2 separate regions of the Homo sapiens genome follow, and region 2 is linked to region 1. Evidence: promoter capture Hi-C in 16 types of primary human blood cells and fetal thymus (Javierre and others, 2016). All regions are on one chromosome and are shown on one strand. The core of a region is centred on a gene start or on the middle of the fragment in contact, and the rest is flanking DNA. Distances in the headings are between cores, read along the strand shown. Region 1 holds the start of FGFR1 (fibroblast growth factor receptor 1). Region 2 holds the start of LOC124901935 (a long non-coding RNA gene).

Region 1 (6,174 bases), core at 474-2,973:
ACCAAAAAAGTGTCTGGCTGCCTCATAGGGGGTGTGTGTTCTATATGAACCCCCATCTACAAGGTCCATAAAATTCCTCCGCAAACATGGGTCGTAGCCTCACTTTTCTCCCAACCCCAAACATAACGGTAGGGGAAGCGAGGTGCAGAGGGGTCTGGGCCAGAGAAGCATACGCATCGCTGCCGAGTGAACCACACCGGACAAAAACCCTCATCCCTTCCCCCACCTCTAGGAACCAGATTGGGACCGAACGGTCCTTCCGCCCCCATCCCACACCTCGGCTTAACGACCGTGGGTTGTCCTCCCGTTCCCCAAACTTCCGACCCTTTCAGAGACCGTCCAAGTCATAAGATCACCCCTTCTGGAAAGGGGAGTCGTTTTTCGCTCTCAGCTCAAGCAGATTCAGCCATTTGGTGACGACACCTCCTTAAAACCTATTCCAAGAGAAGCTAACCTAGCCCTCCACGTCCTCCGCAGTTCATCTCCCACCCCATCCGACCCCAACCCGCACCCCAGGCTTTCCCGGGGGTGGAAAAGGACTTAGGAATGCCCCGGATTTTTAGCGTTGAGCCCAAAGCTACCTGCTGAATTGGGGGTGAATCCCCAAAAGGGGACCAAAAAGACATGGAGTGGAATGCAACACACACACATAACACACACAACGCATCCCACCTCGCCGCCCACTCCCGCCCTCCTCCCCAGTCCAGGAAACCGCGGGCCTCGCCGCCTTCGCCCCGGGCCTGTCCCTCCCGGGACTCACTGAGGAGCCGCCGCCGCCTCGCCAGCTCCCGAGCGCGAGTTGGAGGAAAAGTTGGGCGGCGGGAAGAGCGGCGGGACGAGCGCAGGGAGGGGGCGCAGGAGACGCGGACGGAGGGAAGGGAGGGGAGACCCAAGGGGCGCGGATCGCCCGGGAGGGAGCCAGGAGGTGAAAGGGGCGGGCGGCGAGCGGAGGGAGGCGCCGGCCCCGGCTGGGCTGCGGCGGGCAAAGCGCGCAGCCGGGAGGCTCCGGCGCCGGGGGCCGCTCGGGACGCCAAGCCCGCCCCAGATCCGGGGGCGCCGCGGCTCTTACCTCGCTCGGCGTGGAGGTTCCGCCTCGGGAGAGTCCGCCGTGGCTTGTGCGAGCGGGCGTGTGCCCGCGTCCCCGGCTCCGGCCCGCCGCCCCCGGGCTCTGTTCGGGTCCTGGCGGGGTCGCAAGAGCTCCGCGGCCGGCGCTCGACTCCCGGCGGCGCTCGGTGCTCGGCGCCTCCAGCCCGGGCGGGAACAATGGAGCCGGAGCTGGTGCCCCGGAGGCGGGGCGGGGGGAGGGCTCCCGTCCGCCACCCGGGGTCTCCAGACCTTGTGCCCCCCTCCTCCAGAACGCAGCGGCGGCGCCTCACTTTCCTTGCAGACCGGGCTCCATCGCCCTGCGGAGGCCCCGGCGCCGCGGCGTGCCCGACTGCAGCACGGGTACCGTGCGCCCTGCGGGGCGCCCCGAGCTCGGACCGGAGAAAAGTCCTTGGGTTCCGCGGCTTTTCAAGCAGCGGCGCGCTCGCGGCCGGGGAAGGCGAGGTCGCCGCAATGCGCTACGAGGGGTCTCGGTCCCGTCCGGACGTGGCCGCCCAGCTCCCGGCACACCCGGGTTCCTCCGCGCGCTGCGGCTGCACCGGCGTCCCGGCTCCCGCTAGCTGCCGCCCGCCGCCGAGGACGCCGCGCCTGTGGCCGCAAGAGCGCTCCGAGCGCTATGCGCCGGCGGGGCGCGAGGGCTCGCTCTCTCACTCCCACCCGCGCTGGTCCCTCCTCCGCCTCCGCCCCCTGCAGCTGCCTGCTGGGCCTTGTAGTTCCCCAGCCGCGGCCCCAAAGGACGGGGAGCGGGCCGAGCTGTCCGGCGCTCTGCCCTTCTCTTCCTACAGCCTGGTCTCCTTTGGCGTTTGCGCCCCTGCATCTGAGCACGTCCCAGAGGGCGCCGGAATGTCAGGCCCTAGACATAGCAGCGGTTTGGGGGCTAGGGGGCAGGTGAAGAGACGCCGCAGCCTTGAGGTTGTACCTGGTAGCGTGGGCTTTGGAGTCTGTGCGCCTTGGGGAAATGATTTTCGCGCTCTAAATCTCTGTTTTCCCATCTGTAAATGGGGGATAATAGTGCTTTTCACATAGAGTTGAGGCGTCAACGAGGGCCTAGCGCATAGTTAACACTTAGTAAATACAAGCCGGTTTTATTATAAGGTCAGCCCCTCCTCAAACCCTTCCCTTGGATTTCAGCTTTCCCCAGCCACATAATTTAGGTTTTGTGGTCCACCGGGAACTGGACCCTGTAAATTCTACAGCGATGCTGTTGGCTTCCAGAAGTCTCCAGCCTGCAGTGAATGTCTAGGAAGCAAAGAGTAAGCAGTGGGAGTTGAGGGGAGACGTGTGGTTGGTTTGGAAATTAATCACAGCCCACTCAGAACACCCTCCAGTACTGTGGAACACAGGAAAGTGGCTAAAATGCTTCCCCCTGAGTCTTCCCGCGAAGTGGTATAATGTAGTGGTTCCCTAATCCAGATGGACACGGGTCCTAGGGAACGTCTGAAAAATACAAGTTCATGGGCCTGCTCAGACATGAGGAATCACGCTGTCCCAGGAAGGAGCCAAGAGCCTTTATTTTTTCCAAGGCTCCTTGGGGCGTGTGATGTGAGCCCAGGCTGAGGCCACCATTGGGGTGGGAAGTAGGCAGCACTTGGTCTGAAGGATTCCTCCATTCTGTCCATCATTTATGAAGTTTGATGTAGGACAAATCATGCATCTGATAAAATCAAAACGGGGTATCTGTTGATACTCCTTCACAAGATGGTCATAAGAATCAAATAAAATAATAGCTCTCAGTGGACCAAAAATATTACACAAATGGAAGTCACTATGAAAGGTAGTGGCAGGGCCTGTTCCCTTACCATCACCCACCTCAACCCCGAAACTTGTAGAAGTTTGAATACTGAATGAGATCCCCCCACCCAACTCCTCACCCAACCCACCCACGCCTCCCTGGCTAATTTAAGAAAAGAGTTGGCCGGGTGCGGTGGCTTATGCCTGTAATCCCAGCACTTTGGGAGGCCGAGGCGGGTGGATCACGAGGTCGGGAGATCGAGACTATCCTTGCCAACAAGGTGAAACCCCGTCTCTACTAAAATACAAAAAAATTAGCCAGGCATGGTGGCGCTTGCCTGTAATCCCAGCTACTGGGGAGGCTGCGGCAGAGGAATCGCTTGAACCCGGGAGGCGGAGGTTGCAGTGAGCCGAGATTGTGCCACTGCACTCCAGCCTGGCAACAGAGCAAGACTCCGTCTCAAAAAAAAAAAGAAAAGAAAAGAAAAAATGGTCCTCGCGCTATTTTTCTAATCCACCAGTAGGTGACAGACTAGTGGCCAACACAGTGTTATTCACATAGTAGACACTCATGAAATCCCTTGACTGGCCAAAGAGCAAATATTCAATAAGTATTTGTTGAACAAATGAGTAAATAAACAACTAAATTACAGCTCACGCCTGTAATCCCAGCACTTTGGGTGGCCGAAGCGGGAGGATCACTTGAAGCCAGAAGTTCAAGACCAGCCTGGGAAACAAAGTGAGCCCTTGTCTCTACAAAATATTTTTAAAAATTAGCTGGAGGTGGAGGCTGAAGAAGGAGGATGGCTTGAGCCCAGGAGTTTGAGGCTGCAGTGAGCTATGATCCAGCCACTACACTCCAGCCTGGGCGACAGAGTAAGACCCTGTCTCAAAACAAAATAATACAAAACAAAAAATGAGAAACAAGAACTCATATCTTTGTTGAATAAATGAACTTCAGCCACTGTTTATAGGGTTTTCCCCTAAGAGCCACCATTTAACCTTTCAGCTCCTGGTCAAGCTTGGTTTATACTCCTATGTAAGCTGCCCACCCATTAGGCCTCCTGCATTTTAATTACTACACATCACACGCTTGTAAGAAGGCCATACTCACACCCTACCCCCAAGAGGCCTTCCCTGCCCATCCCAGCTTTGTCAGTCCCTGGACCCCCTGCTCACTTGCTGACTATCCACTGAGTTGATACCGTGCTTTGTTAGTGGTTTTCCTTACTCTGCTTTCTTTCTAACTGGTTTCTAAACTGCTTTAGGGCAAGGATCTTATCTAGGTGTCTGACCAATTCTACACAGGAGGTTTTCCATGTATATTTATTGTTCATGGACTTGCTAAGCATAACCAACCTGGGTTACCAGAGGAGGAAACACAATTTGAGGGAATATGATTGGGAAGACAAGCCATGAAAAAAATCCAGCATTTAATGTTAACACCCAGCTACTATTTTTCTACTTTGCTCCGTAATTCTTCTCAAAAAAGGGTTTTTTTTGTTTTCTTTTTTTTTTTTTTTCCTGAGATGGAGTCTTGCTCTTTTTGCCCAGGCTGGAGTGCAATGGCACGATCTCAGCTCACTCAGCTCACCTCTGCCTTCTGGGCTCAAGCGATTCTCCTGCCTCAGCCTCCCGAGTAGCTGGGATTACAGACACCTGCCACCATGCCCAGCTAATTTTTGTATTTTTAGTAGAGACAGGGTTTCACCATGTTGGCCAGGCTGGTCTCGAACTCCTGACCTCAGGTAATCTGCCCACCTTGGCCTCCCAAAGTGCTGGGATTACAGGCGTGAGCCACCATTCCTGGCCCAAAACAAGGGGTTTTAAATCAAGCCCCTTTTTCTTATGATTTAGAACCATTGTAGGAGTATCTTGAACCCCAAATAAAAGGCTAAATAATGCGTTCTTGATTTAAACAGAAAGATAATGATCTAAATGCTTGTTTGGGGTTGAGGGACATGGGCCTGCTGCTGAAAAATCCTCTATAGATTTATCAAGAAGCCAAAATGAAAGCAAGTGGCCAACTTGCCAGGGTCCCTCCTCCACTTCTCAGGGAAAGAGCTGATGGCAGCTGAACAGAGAAGGTGAGAAACTCAGCAAAGGCATGGGCTGTCCACACACTGCAGACAGGTTTCTGAATAATTGAGAGTTGGCTGCTTTTATCCTTCCAGCCCACCTCGCTCCTTTTCTGTCCCACTCCTCTACTCGCCCTCTTTCTGAAATGTAGCCCTCCCATTTCTGGAAGGGCCCCAGGCCAGTGGAGGGAGAGTGTCCCTAGGGCAGCCCTGAGCTGCTCCAGGCAACAGGGGTCAGACAGCAGCTCTGCCTGTCTCTGTTCTGCCCGAGGCCTCCTGGCACCTTGCCTCCCATACAGAAATGTAACCTTCCCTCTGAGATAACAAAGAGCTGGGAGGGTCAGGGAGGATTTGTCGGCCCTTCGCCCTGCCAGCTACATGTCTAAGGGGAGACAAAGGCCCTCATGCTGGAGGGCCTGATAACTGGTTGGGGGCCTGTTGCCTCCCACATCTGTGGGAGGAGGAGACCACTGCTGAATGAAACGAAGGGAAACGGAGCTCTCCCCAAAGCCCGGCCAGCTCTCTTTGTTTGGGAACACTGTAGGAAATCCCTTCCCTGTTCCTCCAGCTACTTGTGTCCTCAGAGTTTTCCCTGGCAGACGGGAGCTCCTCTTCCCCTCTCCCCACATTCCTTCTGCCCCTGCTCTATCTGGGTTCTGTTATTTTAGGGCTCAGCTGTGCCTACCAGGAATGATCACCCCACTACCCTGGGTCGATACTGCAGAATTAACAATTCTTTGTTATGGAACAAGTCAGGTAAAGTAAGCACCATTGACATGGGGCAAGGTTGCAGAACTTCCAGCCCAGGCTTCAAGAGTCCCCAGGATGTGGTGAGAGCTGGCAGAGTCTCCACTCCGAGAGCTGGTTGCAGAAGGGGATTCGGGAGGAGGGAACTGTCTGGGGTTTTCCCTACAAAGTGGATGGTTCACAGGTCCTGGGAGCAGGTGGGCAGCCAAGCCTTTTGCCCCAGGCCCCTGGAGTTAGGGAGCAGCAGTCAGTCACCATCTGGCCACCATTTGGTGACCCCTGTCTGTTCCCAGAGCAGCTTCAGCATGTCAGGGAAGGGAGGGTCTTATTTGGCTTGGTGTTTTTGTAAATAACATTCACTCTCTTCTGCCAATTTGGAGTGAGAAAGGGAGCGAGCTGTGTGGCAGCTCAGCTCTGTCTGGCCTGAATGCCACATCTATTCACGGAGCCTGGGGGTGTCAGGGAGCACTTCTTGTGTGTCAGGCGCTGTGCCGGGCACAGTGGATCCGAAGAT
Region 2 (6,174 bases), core at 1,134-3,633, 83 kb after region 1:
AAATGACTCATCTCCAATCTCCCTTCCAAATCTCTGGTACAAAGTTTAGAAGAGGGTAGCAAGACGCTAATAGAAACAGAAACAAAAAATAAAAATAAATACACAAAGCTAGCTTCTCTACTGTCCTCTTCTAGATCTCTCTTAGGCTAGAGTCTCTTAATCTACTTATGTCTTGTCTTTCATATTTTTCCTTCTTTTCCTCTTTGTATTTCATTTTGGATAAATTTTTCCATACTATCCCCCATTTCATCATTTTTTCTCTGACTACACTCAGTCTAGAGTTTAACCTGAATATTGAGGCTTAAACAATTCAATGGCTATTTTTTGTGTCTAAGATTTCCAGTTTGTTCGTTTTCCTTGAGTTTTTTTTTTTTTTTTTTTGACAGAGTCTCACTCTGTCACCCAGGCTAGAGTGCAGTGGTGTGATCTCGGCTCACTGCAACCTCCACCTCCCAGGTTCAAGCAATTCTCCTGCCTCAGCCTCCTGAGTAGCTAGGATTACAGGCATGCGCCACCACGCCTGGCTAATTTTGTATTTTTAGAAGAGACAGTGTTTCACCATGTTAGCCAGGGTGGTCTCAAACTCCTGACCTCAGGTGATCCACCTGCCTTGGCCTCCCAAAGTGCTGGGATTACAGGCATGAGCCATCGTGCCCAGGCTTTTCCTAATCTTTTTTTTTTTTTTTTTTTTTTTTGAGACAGAGTTCACTCTTGTTGCCCAGGCTAGAGTGCAATGGCATGATCTCGGCTCACTGCAACCTCCACCTCCCAGGTTCAAGTGCTTCTCCTGCCTCAGCCTCCTGAGTAGCTGGGATTACAGGCATGTGCCACCATGCCTGGCTAATTTTGTATTTTTAGTAGAGACAGGGTTTCTCCATATTGGTCAGGCTGGTCTCGAACTCCCAACCTCAGGTGATCTGCCTGCCTTGGCCTCCCAAAGTGCTGGGATTACAGGTGTGAGCCACCGCGCCTGGCCTTCCTAATCTTTTTTATTCCCACTTCTTCTTGTTCCATTCCTATTTTCATCTAATATTTATTGCTTATTTTTAATATGTTTTTATGATTTCTTTGAGAAATGTAAATGTATATATACTTCAAAACCTATCCTCTATGAAACTGATAGATTTTAGTACTAGTCTATAAAATTGGTAGATTTTTATGACTTCTGCTCTATAAAACTGATGTCAACTGGAATGAATTAATGTTGTTTATTGATTTTACTGTCTTTCTTAGCATTAGACTTTTTCATTGTTAAAATGTGTTTTGGAATTTTGATTTGCAGATCCATTTCTAGTGGCAGTTTTCCCCCTTTGATTTGTTTTGTTTTTGTCTTTTTTTCTTCTCTTCCTGAATGCACAGTTTATAGTTTTGTGGTTGCCTCCACCCATTTTCCTAAGCCGCTGTTCCAGCGCCAGCTCTTACGTGTTATTTCATGGTTCCTTATTCTGTGCCAGAATGATGCCAATCCAGATGAGGAGCTGTGGGTGGCTTGGCATGGGTCCTCACTTTGAGGCTGTGCTCTATTTCCACCCCACTTTACCTCACCCTACCCTGGTCTCCAGCATCTAAAAGTAGGGTCTTCCTCTGGGCTTTCTCCCAGGACAAAGTTTTTCAAGTAAACATTTCTATTGAAATATAACAGATATACAGAAACGCACATGAATCGTAAAGGGGCACCTCAATGAGTTTTCACAAAGTGAATGCTCCTGTGTAATAAACCCCCAGAGCACAAAAAGAACATTCTTGGCCTCCAGAAGACCCCTGGTGTTCATCTTAGTCACTGCCCTTTCTAAGGTAACTGGGCTCCTGGCTTCTCTAAAACCCTTTGGGACTCAGAGCCCAGCAGCATGTCAGTCACAGCCCCATTTAGTGATTTTGGGCTCTGTTCTTGCTTCTGGTTCACAGAAAGCTTGCCTTGTTTTTCAGCCCAACTGTGTGTGTTGGGTTATATGCGAAAATGTTTTATTTACTGCTGGTTTGTGGTTGGAACAGAGAACTCACCGCTCCATCTTGACTGGAAGTCCAGCAGAACCTGTTTATGGGACAGTCACTAGTTCTGACCGGAGACCAGGGAAATGGTAGCAGATGCGCTGGGTTCAGCGGATGAAAAGCCTTTGTATGCTCACTAATAAATTCAGATGTTGTCCTCCAGTTAGTGAATGGATGATGAAAGACTGCATGCAGGAAAATGAGATGCTTTGGGATGTGTACATTTTAGAATTATTTCTCTGGCTAAACCAGGGAGGATGGAATGAAGGAGAGCCACACACAAACAGTTTTACCAGCTGGGAGGGAATTTCTGTAATTCGGGTGAGGCGTGCCCAGGGTCCATGAGGGCAGTGGTTGTGGGGGTGGCAAGATTATAAAAATGAATTTGCCGGGTGTAATGGCTCACACCTGTAGTCCCAGCACTTTGGGAGGCCAAGGTGGGTGGATCACCTCAGGTTGGGAATTCAAGACCAGCCTGACCAACATGGAGAAACCCCATCTCTACTAAAAATACAACATTAGCCAGGCGTAGTGGCGCATGCCTGTAATCCCAGCTACTCAGGAAAGCTGAGGCAGGAGAATGGCTTGAACCTGGGAGGCGGAGGTTGCAGGGAGCTGAGATCGTGCCATTGCACTTCAGCCTGGGCAACAAGAGTAAAAACTCTGTTTCAAAAAGAAAAAAGAATGAATTTGGGAGATAAATAGGAGGTGATTGATTGGACGGATGTCAAGGATGACTTTTAGTTTCTGAAAACTGGTAAAAGGTGGTGCAATTTATAGGACTTAAGGAATGCTGGGGATGGAGCAGGTTTCTGGGCATTTATTTCATTTGCCAGTTTTGTTAGTGGTTGGCTCTGCATGTCTTCTCCCAAGCTTCTGGTCCCATGACTCATCTGACAGATGGCGTTTGTTGAGTCCCTGCTGGTGAGGGCTGGAGCCTGGGGAGATAAGGATGTGGAGGGACATAACTAGGAGACAGGGCCACCTTCAGGCTGGGGCTCTTTGCAGTGGGCATTTATCAGCGTACAGGAAATGCCTGTGCTCAGATTTCCTGCCCACAAGGTGCGGGGGTGCGAGATGCATGTGAAGCTTGGGCCCCTTTGTGGAAATGAGGGAGAGGGAAGCAGAGAGTCAAGTGCATGAGAAGTAAATAGAGACCCTGAGAAAGAAAGGCAGACCTAGGGGAAAGGAACTCCAGTTTTTCCTTTCTTCTGGTTGGTCAGAGTTCAGTCCTTTGCCCCCACCCTAACACCTTCTGCTTCTAAAGGTCCTTCATTACTTGGGACCCAGCTTCCTACTGCAGCTCTTCCCCAACCACCTCTACAGAAGGGGTAGAGAATTCAGTGGCTCGATACAAATGTATCTTGGCATCTTGTAGTCAGGAGGACAAATTTTGCCTTCTCTGTGATCCTGCAGAAGGCATCCCAGGAGGTCTATGATGTTTCCGCCTTCTGATCCTTCTTTCTCTCCACGTACCCCTTAACCTCTTCCCATCATCAAGCCCTCTTTAGCTTGCCTGGGAGCCAGGCTGGGTGTTGCAATCCTCCTGGGCCAGGCTGTTAACTGAGTAGCAATCTGAGCAGGTTCTAGAAGCGCGTCCCTGGAGTCTAGGGTTTCCAAGGAGTCAGCTCAGAACCTAGAAGTTCACTCTATGGAGGGTCAAGGTACAGAAACCTGAGAATGAGGAATAAGCTGAAATCTATCACTGCATCTCCCTAGGCCTCAGAAACAGGTGGGTCCTGCTGCTGTGGTCTTCCTCACACTCATTCTTATTGCTGCTTATTTTAGGCAGAAACAATAGTAGGATGCTATGACCTGTGAAATCATAATCCAACCCTTACATTCCGTAGATGAGGCCCAGGGAGGTTAAACTGATTTTTCCACCTCAATCCAGGAACTTTCTACTTTGTTATTCCTTCCCCACCCCCACCCTTGGCTCCCAAAGGGCTTTAGGGTCAACTTAGTGAGCTCTAGGGTGCCATTGCCAATCCAGATATTGACGGTCGGCCCCATGGGCAGCGCAGGGTCCGAGTCTGGGGTTTGATCAGAGTCTTAAGTTCAGCGGGTCTCTCCCCTGCAGGCCCCTGCACCTGGGGTTGGGAGAATGAATAAGGACCTTGTCTGGTAGGAATTTCTTTCCTCTGCTGTTTGCTTTGGGTTTTTTCCCTCTCCATTCCTGGCGGCTAACCCAATATTTGGCTTTCTAAATTTCTAAATTTCTGTGAGCACTAAATATATTTCTTCATTTAACCCCGAGAATCATGGTTTCCTACCTGCTTCCCACGACCGGATCCACAGCCTGGAATGAAAACAGAACCCCGAGGGCATCGGCAGCTCAGGGCTGAGGGGGTGGTGGTTCCGGGGAGGGGGAGGAGCAGAGCCAGGGAGGGAGGGTGCACTCACCCACGCTGGGCATCTCAGACATCCTGAGAAAGCAGGAACAGAGGGAGGGGGGAGACGCTTTGGCTTCTCTCCCAACTCCCCGCAGCCGGGGCCCTGCTCCTCCCCTCCCTATCTAAAAGGGGGCCTGGTCCCCACCCACGGCGCCTCTGCACAGCCCCAACATCCCAGGTGCAGGCCGTGAGCTAGACCTGGGGCGTGGTGAAAGCAAGCAAAACCTGCGCCTGAAGCCCGCTCCGCCACACCTTGCCCCCTGCAGACCCTTCTAGCTGGGCCGCGGCCCTCTTGCACGGACTCTTAGAGGGCTCCTCCACCGCCCTGCGCTCCCCACTGTAAATAGTCAAGGCCGCGGTATAGCTGAGCTAAATTGTCCTGGTAAATTGAACGGGGCAGTGGAAAATTCCCCTCCGGAGCCTCCCGGGGAGGAGCTCTAAGCAGCTGCTACCGAACCCCAGGGCTTGTTAGGCACCTGCCTTTCAGGTTCTCCACCCACTCAGCCCCCAGCTGGGGAGGAGGTGGCTGTTTCCTTCTCCTTCGGAGCAGGAAGGGAGAGGCAAGAGACCCTGCTCCCCAGCCCTGACCTGAGCTAATGTCTGCTAAAACATCTCCTCTTAAATCAGACTTGGTTTTCCAGATTTGGGAGCCGGTGGCAGTACATTCTGTCTCCGTCTGGCTGAGCAGGAAAACAGGAGACAGAGCTTCCTACCACCTGATTTACAGCCTTGGCGTGGTTTTGAGACACAAATCACCCGAGAGAGCGGCTCAGTTGTAGTTCTGCAGATGCGATCCGGTAGGATCACCTGGCAAGATCGCTTCCCGCCGGTGGGGAGGTCCACAGGGCCTGGGAAAAGGCCTCCTCCCAGACTGAAACGCCGCCCACTGCCCGCCCCCCGAATGTGTCTGGGACCCCACTGGGCCATGTTGGAGCCTGGGGGATGGACGATGTGGGGGATAGTAGGGCAGGCGGCAGTGGGTCCACAAGTCCTGATGACCAGCAGGGCCATTCCGACCTTCCTCGGTCCCCTCATTCCCTTCCTTGCCTGTACCTGCCTTTGTTTCTTCAACCTGAATCTGTCAAGCACTCCCCAAGCACCAGGCACTGTCGTAGCTGCCCTAGAAGGACACAAGAATACTAAGTCTCTGGCCCTGCACTTAGTTCCAGAGGAAGAGGAGATAGGAATGTAAATGCTTGCAACAAAAGGCTGAATGCAGTTAGTGTCATGACACAGGTATAGATAAGGTGTCCTGGGACTGTGAAGATCTCTCTCAGAGTCAGGGGAGGCTTCCGTGAGGAGGTGACGCTAATGTTCATCAGAACAGAAGACAGGAGATGCCCTGGCGACAGGGCTGACTTGGTTTCATGGGGATTCTCTGTTTTATCTCCATCTCCAGGGCACTTTATCCTTTTAAAATACTTTTTTTTTTTTTTTTTTTTTTGAGATGGAGTCTCGCTCTGTTGTCCAGGCTGGAGTGCAATGGCGCGATCTCAGCTCACTGCAACCTCTGCCTCCCGGGTTCAAGCGATTCTCCTGCCTCAGCCTCCTGAGTAGCTGAGACTACAGGTGCCTGGCACCACGCCCGGCTAATTTTTGTATTTTTGGTAGAGATGTGGTTTTGTCATGTTGGCCAAGCTGGTCTCAAACTCTTGATCTTGTGATCCGCCTGCCTCGGCCTCCTAAAGTGTTGGAATTACAGGCATGAGCCACCGTGCCTGGCCCCTTTTTACTCTTAGATTAGCCATACCCAGGTCTGAGGGTCTTGTCTGTCCTCCCTATACTGTGCTTT

Evidence for each region. The method cuts DNA at HindIII sites, captures the fragments that hold promoters and counts their contacts. A CHiCAGO score of 5 or more calls a contact.
Region 2: a contact is called between a fragment that was not itself captured here and the fragment with the promoter of FGFR1 in region 1, in 3 of 17 cell types (endothelial precursors, M0 macrophages and M1 macrophages). The highest score is 6.5, in endothelial precursors.

Annotation. Positions count from the first base shown.
Region 1 is chr8:38,466,912-38,473,085 of GRCh38, forward strand. FGFR1 (fibroblast growth factor receptor 1) reads right to left here and starts at 1,724. Exons shown (of 18, transcript NM_023110.3): 1 at 1,070-1,724. RefSeq lists silencers at 1,007-1,126, 1,137-1,266, 1,537-1,606 and enhancers at 1,464-2,450, 1,887-2,056, 5,068-5,861, 5,862-6,174. The HindIII fragment of the contact is 10,295 bases long and covers 1-3,854 here.
Region 2 is chr8:38,549,454-38,555,627 of GRCh38, forward strand. It overlaps LOC124901935 (a long non-coding RNA gene), which reads right to left and starts at 4,295. Exons shown (of 2, transcript XR_007060890.1): 1 at 2,002-4,295. RefSeq lists enhancers at 129-188, 2,812-3,313, 4,898-4,987. The HindIII fragment of the contact is 953 bases long and covers 1,908-2,860 here.